2 separate regions of the Homo sapiens genome follow, and region 2 is linked to region 1. The links are contacts of gene promoters, found by promoter capture Hi-C in human tissues and cell types (Jung and others, 2019). All regions are on one chromosome and are shown on one strand. The core of a region is centred on a gene start or on the middle of the fragment in contact, and the rest is flanking DNA. Distances in the headings are between cores, read along the strand shown.

Region 1 (7,385 bases), core at 4,886-7,385:
CAGGAGAATTGGTTGAACCAGCAGGCAGAGGTTGCAGTGAGCTGAGATCAGGCCACTGCACTCCAGCTTGGGCGACAGAGGGAGACTCTGTCTCAAAAGAAAAAACAAACAAAAAAAACTTCCCTAGTATTTAAAGTCGGCATCTGATTCCAAGCCTCTTTCAACTTTTATAAGTAACTAAAATGTCTATACATTCTTTTTAAAAAAAAAAAAAAATTCAACAAACACTTATTTCTCACACTTCTGGAGGCTAGGAAGTCCAAGATCAAGGTGCTTATAGATTCAGTGTCTGGTGGGGGCTCACTTCCTGCTTTATGAGCTATGCCTTCTCACTGTGGTTTCACATGGTAGAAAGGGGTAGGGCTTTCTCTCTGGCCTCCCTTACAAAGGCACCAACCCCATTCCTGAGGGCTCTGCCCTCACAACGTAAAATTTCTGTACATTCTATGCCATGCTGAAGCTCATTTTACAACCCTAAGCTCTCACCTTAAGGTCCATACATGCTCCTAAGGAAAATCCACCACAGCGCACTCAGTCCTCCCGTGGAGGCACCTGCTGCACTCTGCTGCAGTGTTCTTCCTTTCTAATAAACTTTCCTTTTCCAAACCTATACTGTTGTCAGTAAGTTCTTTCTTTTTTGAGACCCCTCCCCCCACCCCAAGACATGCCAGTAGTCCCAGCTAGTTGGGATGCTGAGACAGGAGATGGCACCACTGCACTCCAGCCTGGGCAACAGAGCGAGACTCATCTCAAAAAAAAAAAAAAAAGGATCAAACAGTACTAAAGACCCTATTATAAAAGTCTTTCACTCACAGTGTCCCTGAATCTCCCCCTCCCTCCCACAACCACTGTTTACAGAGCCTTAAATAAACAGATGATAATGTGTTACCTTGCTCAGTCCCTGGCCTGGAGTGCTGTGGTGCCATCTGGACTCACTGCAGCCTTGACCTCCCAGACTCAAGCGAGCCTACCCTCTCAACCTCCTCAGTAGCTGGGACCACAGGCACATGCCATCATGCTGGGCTAATCTTTGTATTTTTTGTAGAGAAGGAGGGGTTTTGCCTTGTTGCCCAGGCTGGTCTTGGACTCCTAGATTCAAGTGATCTGCCTGCCTCAACCTCTTAGGATCAGGGGCCACTGCAATGGGCTAGACATTTTTTTTTTTGAGTCAGGGTCTTACTCTGTTGCCTGGCCTGGAGTGCAGTGGTGTGGTCATGGCTCACTGCAGCCTCAAACCCCTGGGTTCAAGCCGTCCTCCTGTCTCAGCCTCCTGAGGAGCTAGCTGGGACCACAAACACAGGCCACTGTGCCCAGATGATTTTTGTAGAGACAGGGTTTCTCCATGTTACCCAGGCTGGTCTCGAACTCCTGGACTTAAGCGCTCCACCTGCCTCGGCCTCCCTAAGTGCTGTGACTACGGGTGTGAGCCACCACATCTAGCACACCTAGTGCAGTCCTTCTGGAGAGTGGGCCACTCCCAGCCCCGGAGCAGCCTTACTCAAGCCCTCCCTGATCAGATAGGCAGCCTGACAAGTTGCACTGCCTGGGGAAGAGCAGCAAGAACCCTGCTCTGGAAGTTAAGAGTTCCCGGTTCTAGCCCAGAGCTGCTTTCCTTACTAGTTATTGATCTTGCCGAAGTCATTTCCTGTCTCTGGCTCTGTTTCCCAATCTGTAAAATTGTTACTGGAAAGGGGTCCCAATCTAGACCCTAAGAAAGGTGAGAGAGCGAACGGGCCCCGGAGACAAAAAGTTCTTATCTGAGCAATTTAGATAAGGAGCAATCTAAGGAGCAAAGACCACATGTTGACCATCAAACAGGCCATCTGGAGGCAAAACTTGTCTGGAGAATTTAGAAGTAATCCCAGCACTTTGGAAGGCTGAGGTAGATGGATCACTTAAGGTCAAGAGTTCGAGGGAGCGGCAGCGGCGGCCAGGCACGGCGCGAGGCGACGCCACAGGACAGCGGCGGCAGCAGGAAATGCAGCGGCGGCCGCAGCAGCAGCAAAACGGATCGGTGGAGAGGCGCCGCCGCCGCCGGGCCGGGCGTCGCGCGCCGAGGCTCGGGGGGAGTCGTCGCAGCCGCCGCCACCGCTACCGCAGCCGCCGCCGCCGCCGCCGCCCAGGTGACTGAGGAGAGAGGCACCTCCTCGCTCCCGCCGCCGCCGGACTTCAATGCCCAGTCCCCAGCTCGCCAGCGTTTTTCGTTGGAATATACGTTGCACATTTATGGCGATTCTGAATGTGAGAGCAGATTTCTGCCAGGCTGAGCACAGCGTTTTCGCTGACAAGTGAGCTTGGAGGTTCTATGTGCCATAATTAACATTGCCTTGAAGACTTCTGGACACCGAGACTGGCCTCAGAAATAGTTGGCTATTTATTTATTTATTTATTTATTTATTTATTTATTTATTTATTTATTTTGAGACGGCGTCTCGCTCTGTCGCCCAGGCTGGAGTGCAGTGGCGCGATCTCAGCTCACTGCAACCTCCGCTTCCTGGGTTCACGCCATTCTCCTGCCTCAGCCTCCTGAGCAGCTGGGACCACAGGCGCCCGCCACTACGCCCGGCTAATTTTTTGTATTTTTAGTAGAGACGGGGTTTCACCATGTTAGCCAAGATGGTCTCGATCTCCTGACCTCGTGATCCACCCGCCCTGGCCTCCCAAAGTGCTGGGATTACAGGCGTGAGCCACCGCACCCCGGCAGCTTTTTTTTTTTTTTTTTTTTTTTTTTTGAGAGAGAGTTTCCCTCTGTCGCCCAGGCTAGAGTGCAATGGCGCAATCTCGGCTCACTGCAAGCTCTGCCTCCCGGGTTCAGGCCATTCTCCTGCTTCAGCCTCCTGAGCAGCTGGGACTACAGACGCCCGTCACTGCGCCCGGCTAATTTTTTGTGTTTTTAGTAGAGACGGGGTTTCACCGTGTTAGCCAGGATGGTCTCGATTTCCTGACCTCGTGATCCGCCCGCCTCGGCCTCCCAAAGTGCTGGGATTACAGGCGTGAGCCACCGCGTCCGGCCAGCTTTTTTTTTTTAATTGCAAGCATATTTCTTTGAATGACTCCAGTAAAATTAAGCATCAAGTAAACAAGTGGAAAGTGACCTACACTTTTAACTTGTCTCACTAGTGCCTAAATGTAGTAAAGGCTGCTTCAGTTTTGTATGTAGTTGGGTTTTTTGGAGTCCGAAGGTATCCATCTGCAGAAATTGAGGCCCAAATTGAATTTGGATTCAAGTGGATTCTAAATACTTTGCTTATCTTGAAGAGAGAAGCTTCATAAGGAATAAACAAGTTGAATAGAGAAAACACTGATTGATAATAGGCATTTTCATGGTCTTTTTAATGTTTTCTGTTGTTAAACATTTCAAGATTTATTGATTTTTTTTTTCACTTTCCCCATCACACTCACAGGCACGCTCACACTTTTTATTTGCCGTAATGAACCGTCTAGCCCCTGTGGAGATCTCCTATGAGAACATGTGTTTTCTGATAACTCACAACCCTACCAATGCTACTCTCAACAAGTTCACAGAGGAACTTAAGAAGTATGGAGTGACGACTTCGGTTTGAGTTTGTGATGCTACATATGATAAAGCTCCAGTTGAAAAAGAAGGAATCCACGTTCTAGATTGGCCATTTGATGATGGAGCTCCATCCCCTAATCAGATAGTAGATGATTGGTTAAACCTGTTAAACACCAAATTTCGTGAAGAGCCAGGTTGCTGTGTTGCAGTGCATTGCGTTGTGGAATTGGGAAGGGCACCTGTGCTGGTTGCACTTGCTTTGATTGAATGTGGAATGAAGTACGTAGATGCAGTTCAGTTTATAAGACAAAAAAGAAGGGGAGTGTTAAATTCCAAACAGCTGCTTTACTTAAGATGCGATTACGCTTCAGAGATACCAATGGGCATTGCTGTGTTCAGCAGAAAGAAATGTAAATGAAGGCTGACTTGATTGTGGCATTTAGAGGGAACTCCTGGTACCTGGAAATGTGAATCTGGACTCTTACCTGTGTCATCAAAGTAGTGATGGATTCAATACTCCTCAACCACTCTCCTAATGATCAGAACAAAAGCAAACAAGAAATCTCTCTATAAAATGAATAAAATGTTTAAGAAAAAAAAAGAGTTCGAGACCAGCCTGGACAACATGGTGAAATCCCATCCCTACAAAGGTTAACTGGGCTTGGTGGCACGTGCCTGTAATCCCAGCTACTCAGGAGACTGAGACAGGAGAATGGCTTGAACCTGGGTGGCTGAGGTTCCCGTGAGCTGAGATTAAAAAAAAAAATCATACTTCCCTAGTATCTAAAGTTGATATCTGATTCCAGGCCTCTTTCAACTTTTTTTGTTTGTTTGTTTGTTTTTTTGATATGGAGTCTCGCTCTGTCATCCAGGCTGGAATGCAAATGGCACGATCTTGGCTCACTGCAACTTCCACCTCCAGCGTTCAAGCGATTCTCCTGCCTCAGCTTCCCAAGTAGCTGGGACTACAGGCGTGTGCCACCAAGCCTGGCTAACTTTTTTTCTTTTTTTTTTTTTTGAGAGGGAGTCTTGCTCTGTCCCCCAGGCTGGAGTGCAGTGGTGTGATCTTGGCTCACTGCAACCTCCGCCTCTCCGGTTCACGCCATTCTCCTGCCTTAGCCTCCCGAGTAGCTGGGAGTACAGGCGCTCGCCAACACGCCCGGCTAATTTTTTGTATTTTTAGTAGAGATGGAGTTTCACCGTGTTAGCCAGGAGGGTCTTGATCTCCTGACCTCGTATCCGCCCGTCTTGGCCTCCCAAAGTGCTGGGATTACAGGCGTGAGCCACCGCGCCCAGCACCTGGCTAACTTTTGTATTTTTAGTACAGACGGGGTTTCACTGTATGTTGGCCAGGCTGGTCTCAAACCCCTGACTTGAGGTGATCTGCAAGCCTCAGCCTCCCAGAGTGCTGGGATTACAGGCGTAAGCCACCGCTCCTGGCCTAAGGTTGGCTATTTTTATGGTTATTTCTTGATTATATGATAAACAAGGGGTGGGTTAGTAATGAATTTTTCAGAAAAGGGGTGGGGATCCCCCCCAACTGAAGGTTCCTCCACTGTTTAGACCATATAGGGTAACTTCTGGACGTTGCCATGGCATTTGTAAACTGCCTGGCGCTGCTAGGAGTGTCTTTAGCATACTAATGCATTATAATTAGCGTATAATGAGCAGTGAGGACGATCAGAGGTCACCTTCCTGTCTTGGTTTTGGCAGGTTTTGACCAGTTTCTTTGCTGCATTCTGTTTTATCAGCGGGGTCTTGTGACCTTTTATCTTGTGCTGACCTCCTGTCTCATCCTGTGACGAAGGCCTAACCTCCTGGGAATTCAGCCCAGCAGGTCTCTGCCTCATTTTACCCAGCCCCTGTTCAAGATGGAGTCGCTCTGGTTGGAAACTTCTGACAAAATGACAGCTCCTGTTATGTTGCTGCTGCTGCCGCCAATGGACAGCCTTTAACGTGCCCGCCAGCCCTGCTCCACCGCCGGCCTGGGCTCACATGGCCCCATCCCTCCTCGAACCTCCTAGCCTGTTAGTTACTCAAATCTGCAAGCTCTCTGCCTTCTCAGGGCCTTCAATAAATGCATTTCTTCTGTCTGGAAGGCTCTTCCTTTCCCTCTTCTAGCCAATTCCTATTCATCCCTGAGTTTCAGATTAAAAGTCACTTCCTTTGGAAACCTTACTTCGCTACTTCGCTACTTACTGCACTACTTCGCAGCATCACAACTATGATGGAAATCCTTACTTACGTTAAATATCTGGTTTCTAGGTCACCTCCCTGACGGGGACGGTAGGGACCGTCTTCTCGTTCATCAGTAGGGAAGTAGCTATGGCAGTGCCTGATACAAAATAAACTCCAAATGTGTATTTATTAGATGGTTGGATGGAAGTTATTTGCGTGTGAAAGCGCGTTTTACCCGAAGGCGCTCTGTGAGGGCCAGCGGGTCCCCTTCGGCCCTGGAGCCGGGGTCACACGCTCCCCACCGCGTGCGGTCACGAGACGCCCCCAAGGGAGTATCCTGGTACCCGGAAGCCGCGACTCCTGGCCCTGAGCCCGGGCTTAGCCTTCGGGTCCACGTGGCCGGAGGCCGGCAGCTGATTGGACGCGGGCCGCCCCACCCCCTGGCCGTCGCGGGACCCGCAGGACTGAGACCATGGAGGCGGTGGCGGTGGCCGCGGCGGTGGGGGTCCTTCTCCTGGCCGGGGCCGGGGGCGCGGCAGGCGACGAGGCCCGGGAGGCGGCGGCCGTGCGGGCGCTCGTGGCCCGGCTGCTGGGGCCAGGCCCCGCGGCCGACTTCTCCGTGTCGGTGGAGCGCGCTCTGGCTGCCAAGCCGGGCTTGGACACCTACAGCCTGGGCGGCGGCGGCGCGGCGCGCGTGCGGGTGCGCGGCTCCACGGGCGTGGCGGCCGCCGCGGGGCTGCACCGCTACCTGCGCGACTTCTGTGGCTGCCACGTGGCCTGGTCCGGCTCTCAGCTGCGCCTGCCGCGGCCACTGCCAGCCGTGCCGGGGGAGCTGACCGAGGCCACGCCCAACAGGTACCGCCCCGAAGCTTCCCCGCGTCCGCCCGAGGCGCTTACCCCCTCCCGGAGCCGCTGCCACCCAAATCGGGAGGCTGAGCGGGGAGCGCTGGCCGGAAGGCCCAGCTGCGCCGCCTCCAGCAGCTGTGTGGCCTTGAGCCAGCCACTCTGCCTTTCAGAGCCTCGGCTGGCCCACCTGAAAAACGGAAAGAAGACGCCTACCGTGCAGTGTTATTGTGAGGATTTGCACGATGATGGGCATAGAATTTGTGGTGCACAATTGGTGATGAGTGAATTTTCTTGCCTTCCTCCCCCACCTTCTCTTTGAACCTGCGGACTGAGGAAGGACGCCTCCATCCCCCACCCTACAGGCCTGTGTTCCAGCGCCTGCCACACTATGGAGTGATGTGTTCACACAGCTGTCCTCCCCTGCCCATCTGTTAGACTGTGGGGGCAGGGATTCCCCGTTCCAGGAAAACACCGTGCAGAGGAGGGGCTCTGGCAGTGTGGCATGAAAGTGGAATATGCCACCCAAATACCCGCCAGGCTAGAGGGCCCTGGGAGAGTGCAGGGGACGAGTGCCTCAGAAGCCCAGCCCCGGTACCTGGTCTCAGCTCCACCTGGGGTGGGTCCCAGTGTGCAGCAGAAGGGCCGAGTTTGGAGCCCCTCCCCTCTCCTCTAGGTGGGGGATGGGGGATTTGTTCCAGGGCCGTGGACCCTCCAGGGTGGGATGCGCCCCTGCTCATGACACTGCCCGCAGGTACCGCTATTACCAGAATGTGTGCACGCAAAGCTACTCTTTCGTGTGGTGGGACTGGGCCCGCTGGGAGCGAGAGATAGACTGGATGGCGCT
Region 2 (7,453 bases), core at 660-3,159, 260 kb after region 1:
CAACACTGAAGGGGTAGAAGGCCAGGGGGGCATGGAGAGTGCAGCTCCATTATAGTGAAGAGCCAAACATATGTGAACTGTTTGCTGTGTGGAGGTGTTAGTTCTGCTGCCTACCATCTTCATCTCTAGCACCTCCCCTGCCAAGAGTCAACCACTAAGCAATCCCACCCAAGCCTGGATGCTTCTAGAGGGGCCCACTCCCAGCTGGGAGAGTGTAGGGGATATGCTCACACCACATTAGCAGCAACCAATAAAAATGCTGGAAACAAGAACGCCGTGAATCCATATGCCATGCCTTAGGAATTGGGGGAGCAAAGACTTGTGGGGTGAGGCAGGGGAGGATTTAAAAGGGACTTTCTTTTCACAATGGGAGGCAGGGGTGGAAGCTGCCCAGCCCTCTGGCTTCCTGCCATCAGTTAATGAGGAAACTGCAAGGTCAGTGATCCACTTGACTAAGTTAGGATCCCCTCCAGACCCCACCCTAGACCTGTATAGGCAGGTACCAGGGAAAGTTAAAAGAATGAAGACTGCTTGTCTTTCACCCTTCATCCACCTCTCTCTCCCTCCCTCTCTCTGGGGATGGGAAAAGCAGTAGAGTTACAGTATGTTCTTGTGGGTAGAGGACAGAAGAGTGACCTTCCTTCCCCTAAGACGTGGGTTCAGTCTCAAACTGCCCAGTGATCTCTCCCTTAAATCAGGTGGAAAGATCTCATGGAAAAAGTAATTCTAGTTAAACATTTACAGCTCCCTGGGGCAATGCCACCACTGCAGCTACTGCTTGTGAAGCTTTCCAGCATGAAGTGCCATATGCTGCCTCTCAGCCTCCATACTCACTTGACTCCAGGAGAATGACTCAGTTTATTATTCTCAATTTGACCCTATGTATCCCACTGTAGGCTCAAACACTGCACAGAGCTGCCACGTCTAACCTCGTAACAACTGCGTCCCTGGAAGGTGAAGGGGGTAAACCACAAAGTCAGAAACTTTGGGAAAAGCCACGGTCGCATGCACACCTCTCAAACAAGGAAACAAACTACAAGAAAGGGCTCAGTCATTGTACACAGCAAGTGTGCAGTGGGCAAAGTTCTGTTCTTTTGACATTGGCCAAATGCGTAAGTCCCTGGTTTCTTGGGCTCAATCACGGTCCAAGGTTAGTAAGAAGGCCAACAATGTTGTGAGCAGGATTCAATTTCTACAGGGTCATGGGGCATCATCCACCATGTGAAGGGGCTCCAGCAGGTTGGACATGATCAATACCCATCCAGATTAGGACCCTGACGCCCTTGCCAGAGCTCGGGCTCGGGCAGCTTTGGCCTCGTCTTCTAGCTCATCTAGGAAACGCTCCTGGGAAATCGAGTAGAAGGTGTAACCATCTGGGGAGGTAGGTTCAGGAAACCACACAGAATATGCACATTCCCCTTTCCTAGATTTGCTCTACCACTCTTGTTACTCTCCCAAATCAGTGATTCCGGCTTCCCGCCGCTGCTGTTTCTAAACCCTGAACCCCAATTCCGTTATTATTAATAAATCAAATTAAAAGAGTACCTTAGGAATAACAAAGGAAAGTACTACCCATTTTACCCCAAAATTAAACGGGTGGTTCAGCCCTCTTGCACACTCTGTTCCCCTGCCCCTATATGCGGTCCCCTTGAGTCTACAACACGGACGGATACAAATAGCCAACACCAGGGCCCCGATGCCTAGGCCGGTCACGATGTTCCGGGTTCGCCGCCGTGGTAGGACCTTCTGCCACTGGGCAAGCTCCGCCTGCCGCATGGAATGCAGTTGCTCGGGTGTCAGCTTCTCCCGAGTCGGGTCGATACGCTGAGCGAACGGGGCCTCTCCACGCTTAGAATCCAGAGGGTCACCAGCTCCCGAAGACGCCATGTTGCCACTCCTCCCTTCGCGGTGCCGCCGCGCGGGCCTCGCTGGGAACAGTAGCCCTTGGCCGCTGCAGTGGACTCTGGGAGTTGTAGTCCGCGTGCCCTTTGCGGGGCAGAGCCGCGGTTCCCGGGCACAGGGGATGGACGCGGGAGGTGAGAAGCGGACGTGCTTTCTGATTGGCTGAGGAGTCCGTGGCCGTTGGGGCGGGAAAAAGCTGTGGAGGGTTCGAGGCTGTGGTGGTAATTGGGTTTTCCTCAGACTTGAGGCGACGACACACTCATTGGAAGGGGACGAGGAATCCAGGGTGTGGCAGAAGACTGGAGAGGAGCTAAGGGGGTCGGTATGTGGATCCAGTGAACCCGTCCAGGTGCCCCAAGAGGCTCGTGAATATGGACGGACCCATGAGGCCACGATCGGCCTCCCTCGTTGACTTTCAGTTTGGAGTTGTCGCCACAGAGACGATTGAAGACGCCCTGCTTCACTTGGCCCAGCAGAATGAGCAAGCAGTGAGGGAGGCTTCGGGGCGGCTGGGCCGCTTCAGGGAGCCCCAGATCGTGGGTGCGGCTGCAGGGCCGGGGTGCTGGGTTCTTGGGAGACTGGGGCTTGTGTCTTTCAGGCACCGACCTTGAGATTCCGTTGATTTTATTCATTCAGAGAATGTTTGCTAACACCTCTCTGTGGGGTGCTGGGGATATAGTGATGGATAAGTCACAACAGTGCCCTCCCCTTGATTTCTTCGACATGTATGGAATACTTGAGTGGCACCGCTTGGCTAGAAAGATGAAATAGAGGGCCAGGCATGGTGGCTTACACCTGTAATCCCAGCACTTTGGGAGGCTGAGGTGGGAGGTTCACCTGAGGTCAGGAGTTCGAGACCAGCCTGACCAACATGGTGAAATCCTGTCTCTACTAAAAGTACAAAAATTAGCCAGGACTGGTGGCGCGCACCTCTAATCCCAGCTACTCGGGAGGTTGAGACAGGAGAACTGTTTGAACCCAGGAGGCGGAAGTTGCAGTGAGCCGAAATCGTGCCATTGCACTTCAGCCTAGACGACAAGAATGAAACTCCGTCTCAAAAAAAAAAAAAAAAAAAAAAAAAAAAAAAGGCTGGGCGCGGTGGCTCACGCCTGTAATCCCAGCATTTTGGGAGGCTGAGGCGGGCAGATCACGAGGTCAGGAGATCGAGACCATCCTGGCTAACATGGTGAAACCCCGTCTCTACTAAAAATACAAAAAAAAGCCGGGTGTGGTGGCGGGCGCCTGTAGTCCCAGCTACTCCGGAGGCTGAGGGAGGAGAATGGCATGAACCCGGGAGGCGGAGCTTGCAGTGAGCTGAGATGGCGCCACTACACTCCAGCCTGAGTGACGGGTGACAGAGCGAGACTCTGTCTAAAAAAAAAAAAAAAAAAAAAGAGAAAAGAAAGATGAAATAGAGATAGAGGTCTTGCCTTCAAACCATGTGCAATTTGGGGGAGATATTAGAACAAATATGCAATGACTAGGTACTATGGTTAGATAAGAGACGTCAGAGAGAAATAAAACAAGCGTTTATGGGGGTTGAGAGGAGCGATGGGGTAATAGGAAGAATTCAGGGGATGGCCCAGGCATCGGGACATTTCAGGCAGACCTTGAAGGAAGGAGGACATTGGGTTGGTGAAGGGGGAGGAAGGAGACAGTGTTTCTACCAAAAAGAGGTAGCATGAGTAAAGCTATGGAAATGGGGTGCTTAGGGTGCATGTGGGTACAGTGTAGTCCATGTTGGCCAGTGCATGTGGAAGAATAGTTGAAATTAATACTGGAAAGGTAGTTTGGAGACATTCCATGTGGAAGTTTGAATGCCAAGGGGAAGAGTTTATCCTTGGTTTGGTAGGAAACCAAGAAGACATTGAAGGTTTTTAAATAAGGGAGTGAAGGTTTTAAAATAAGGGATACGATGGTAACCCTGCCTTAGTAAACATTATTTTGGCAGTGATGTAAAGGAGGTAAAGGATGGATTAAACCAGAGGGAGATGGGATGTAGGCAGACAGGTAGAGTCAATGTCAGTAGGCTAGGTGATAGGGCAGAGGGAATAACAAGGGAGGGTGGATTAAAAACATTCTAGAGGCAAAGTCTAGGGTTCTGCTGTGGATAAATTTAGGAAGTGAAGGAGGAAAACGTGACTATGCTAAACGGTTGAGCCTGGAAGACTGGAAGTATAGTGGTCATTAAAAGAAACACACAGACACGGCCGGGCACGGTGGCTCACGCCTGTATTCCCAACACTTTGAGAGGCTGAGGCGGGTGGATCACGAGGTCAGGGGTTCGAGACCAGCCTGGCCAACATAGTGAAACCCTGTCTCTATTAAAAACACAAAAATTAGCTGGGCATGGTGGCAGGCACCTGTAGTCCCAGCTACTCGGGAGGCCGAGGCAGGGGAATGGCTTGAACCTGGGAGGCGGAGGTTGCAGTGAGCCAAGATTGTGCCACTGCGCTCCAGCCTAGGCCACAGAGCAAGACTCTGTCTCCCAAAAAAAAAAAAAACAACAACAAAAAAAAACAACACAAAAAACACAGACACACTACATAAATAAAGCAGGAGGAAAAGTGACTTTTGTTTGGGAAAGATAATAATGGCTTTGGAGCCTGGCCAACATGGTGAAACCCCATCTCTACTAAAAATACAAAAATTAGCCAGGCATGGTGGCAGGTACCTGTAATCCCAGCTACTTGGGAGGCTGAGGCAGGAGAATGGCTGGAACCCGGGAGGCAGAGGTTGCAGTGAGCCAAGATCACGCCATTGCATTCCAGCCTGGGTAACAGAGTGAGACCTTGTCTCAAAAAAAAAAAAAAAATATATATATATATATATATATATATATATATATATAATATATGTGTGTGTGTGTGTGTGTGTGTGTGTGTGTATAATAGCTTTAGTTTTGGATCTGCTGAGTTTAAGGTGTTTGCAGAACATCTAAAAGAAGTGTTCTTGTAGACTATTCAAAGAGTAGGTTAGAAGAGAGGTCAGAAATGGAGATCAAGGTTTTCAAGTTATCTTCACAATGATATTGTTGAAACTGTGGCAGAGGATAAGCTCCTAGAAGGAGAAAAGAAAAGCAGGTCAAGGACAGTTCCTTGGGAAAACACTTTGTGTTCAGGGAATTGGAGTAAGAAGACTTGTGAAGGAAATAAAAGGAGGAGATAGGAACAGAACCAAGGGACTTTTGGCAGCCAAGAGGAGACTTTGAAAAGGATAATGGTCAGAAGTTTCAGATGCTTTAGGGATATCAACAGAACTAAAGATTGCAAAAAGCCATGATATTTAACAATTTGGACATATTTACTGTCCTCTGAGAATCATTTCAGCAAGTTAGGAAAGGTAGAAGCCAACAGATAGAAAATTAGGAAGTGAACGATGAAGTGGAAGCAGTGGGTGTGTAAGCCAGGCTTTCAAGTAATTCAACAGCGAGGCTGAGATGGGAGGATTGCTTGAGCCCAGGAGTTTGAGACCAGCCTGGGCAACATAGGACAATCCCGTCTATTTATTATTTATTTATTTATTTATTTAAAAAAAAATTCAACAGTGATGGGAAAGAGAGAGGTTAAAAGGGGAGGGTCTTTTAGTTAATAGCAGATCTGAGTATGCTTGTTATCGAGGAGGTGGGGCCAATAGCAAGGGAAAGGTGTAACCCTCATCCATTCCACCTAATCCAAGCTCAGTTTTTTTGGCAAATTAAAATGGAAAACAGAAACAAATGCTCAGATAATTCAGAGCAAAACCAAACCAAAACTTAACAACTGCACACATACACAAAGAACAAAACTAAGAAATAAAGCCTAAAGTCCAGCAAATAAAATGACTAATAAGAGACACAATTATATGTTCTAGGGTATTATGCTGAATTGCTTAAACTAATTCTGTCCTGCATTGGACATTGCTAGCCAAACTGTAGCCTCTGTAACGATGAGGTTTTGTACATCTATCTATGTGTAATGTGTGTTGAGTAGATTGTTACTTGTGTAAGCTTGACTAAATTTTCTAAGAAAGTTAAGTTTTCTCTGAAGACATATGATTATTTGACTAAATGTGTAATTCTCTACGGATCAATGCTAAAAGGTCTTCAGTCTGTAGGAGCTTTCTTTGTTGAGAACTGACATTTACCCTTGTTTCCACCCTCTAATGATATTGCAAGATAAATATAATTCTATCTGGAGCTGTTCTTTCAAAGAGAAACAGAGGCAGGCTAAAATCTTGCCAAGGTATCTCACCCTTCCCACCTTCCCAATGACTCCCTCCCCCTAAATTGGGCTATGTTCTCCAATTTAGGGGATGTTTCTTCAAAACAAGCCACTTCACAGTAACACACTTGCTCCTGGGGAGAGGCTCAGCCACCACAGATTTACCCAGCAAACTGGTGGTGGAGAGATGGTGTCCAGCTGTAAGGTGACTTGTGTTTGTAAAGCAATGGGAGTTCTCCAGAGGGTGGTTACTAAACAAACAGTGTCATAAAGAATATCAAAGCTCCAGGAGGGATCTTTCTGTTCCTGCCAACATTCCACAGAAAACAGAATATAGGAGTTAGGGTTTTTATCCATCCAAGAATCTTCCTTGAAGCTGGGGGTTCCCAGCATGGTGTAGAGGTCACATAGACCAGCTGGTATGTTTGTGTGTAACTGGCCAAGCCTTTTATCAGCTGAAACCCACAGGAAGGCTCAAGGGTCACTGAGGGGGCTTGGTAAGCCCTTGTCTTTGGCACTCAGTCAGCCTCCTTTACATGTCTCTGATCTGCCTATTGGCAGCAAAAGAAACTAAGCTCAGCTTTGGTTGTTTTAGTCTCATCTTTCTCACCTCCTGACCCTCTTCCCTTGGCCCCATCACGGCTTTTACACAATGCCAAGAGTTCACAGAGTGGTTTTGGTTGCATCTTGTGAATTAGGCTCTTTTTTCCTGTTTTGGCAGAGTTTGTTTTTCTCCTGTCTGAACAATGGTGTCTGGAGAAATCTGTGAGCTACCAGGCTGTAGAAATCCTAGAAAGGTAAAGCCCTGGCATAATGCCTTTTGAACGGCACCTCTCAGAGTGGCTAATGTACCTACATCTTTAAGAAAGTATGAGTAGTTGCCCCTTACCCTGAGACCTGGTTTTACACCCTCTCTAACTTGCAAATATAAATTTCTTTGTTGTTATTGTTGTTTTGAGACAGGGTCTTGCTCTGTCACCCAGGCTGGAGTGCCTGGTGGGATCTTGGCTCACTGCAGCCTTGACCTCCTGGGCTCAAGTGATCCTCCCACCTCAGCTTCCTGAGTAGCTGGGACTACAAGCATGTGCCTCCACACTTCGCACTTGGCTATTTTTTTTTTTTTAGAGATGGGCTTTTGCCATGTTGCCCAGGGTGGTCTTGAACTCCTGGGCTCAAGTCATCTGCCTGCCTTGGCCTCCCAAAGTGCTGGGATTACAGGTGTGAGCCACCATGCTCAGCCTCAAATGTAAATTTCTTAACCAGCAAGTTAAACTCCCTTTAGTTTGTGTGAGTGAGGATTGTTTACTCTCCCTCCCTTCCCTACAGGTTTATGGTAAAACAGGCAGAGA

What was found. Contacts are between HindIII fragments. The study calls those that stand out against the background at their distance.
Region 2: the fragment with the promoter of COA3 here is called in contact with the fragment with the promoter of NAGLU in region 1 in 2 of the 25 tissues and cell types used here (bladder and mesenchymal stem cells).

The regions. Positions count from the first base shown.
Region 1 is chr17:42,530,106-42,537,490 of GRCh38, forward strand. It overlaps NAGLU (N-acetyl-alpha-glucosaminidase), which reads left to right and starts at 6,136. Exons shown (of 6, transcript NM_000263.4): 1 at 6,136-6,550; 2 at 7,293-7,385. The coding sequence starts at 6,168. It also overlaps the pseudogene PTP4A2P1. RefSeq lists silencers at 2,025-2,174, 6,039-6,448, 6,569-6,638 and enhancers at 2,535-2,584, 5,849-5,928, 6,442-7,179. The HindIII fragment of the contact is 7,033 bases long and covers 194-7,226 here.
Region 2 is chr17:42,796,795-42,804,247 of GRCh38, forward strand. It overlaps COA3 (cytochrome c oxidase assembly factor 3), which reads right to left and starts at 1,910. Exons shown (of 2, transcript NM_001040431.3): 1 at 1,674-1,910; 2 at 831-1,373. The coding sequence starts at 1,887. The coding sequence ends at 1,267. CNTD1 (cyclin N-terminal domain containing 1) reads left to right here and starts at 2,067. Exons shown (of 7, transcript NM_173478.3): 1 at 2,067-2,442; 2 at 6,826-6,901; 3 at 7,431-7,453. The coding sequence starts at 2,274. WNK4 (WNK lysine deficient protein kinase 4) reads left to right here. Exons shown (of 19, transcript NM_032387.5): 19 at 1-272. RefSeq lists enhancers at 1,593-1,662, 1,803-1,852, 1,873-1,922. The HindIII fragment of the contact is 12,523 bases long and covers 1-7,453 here.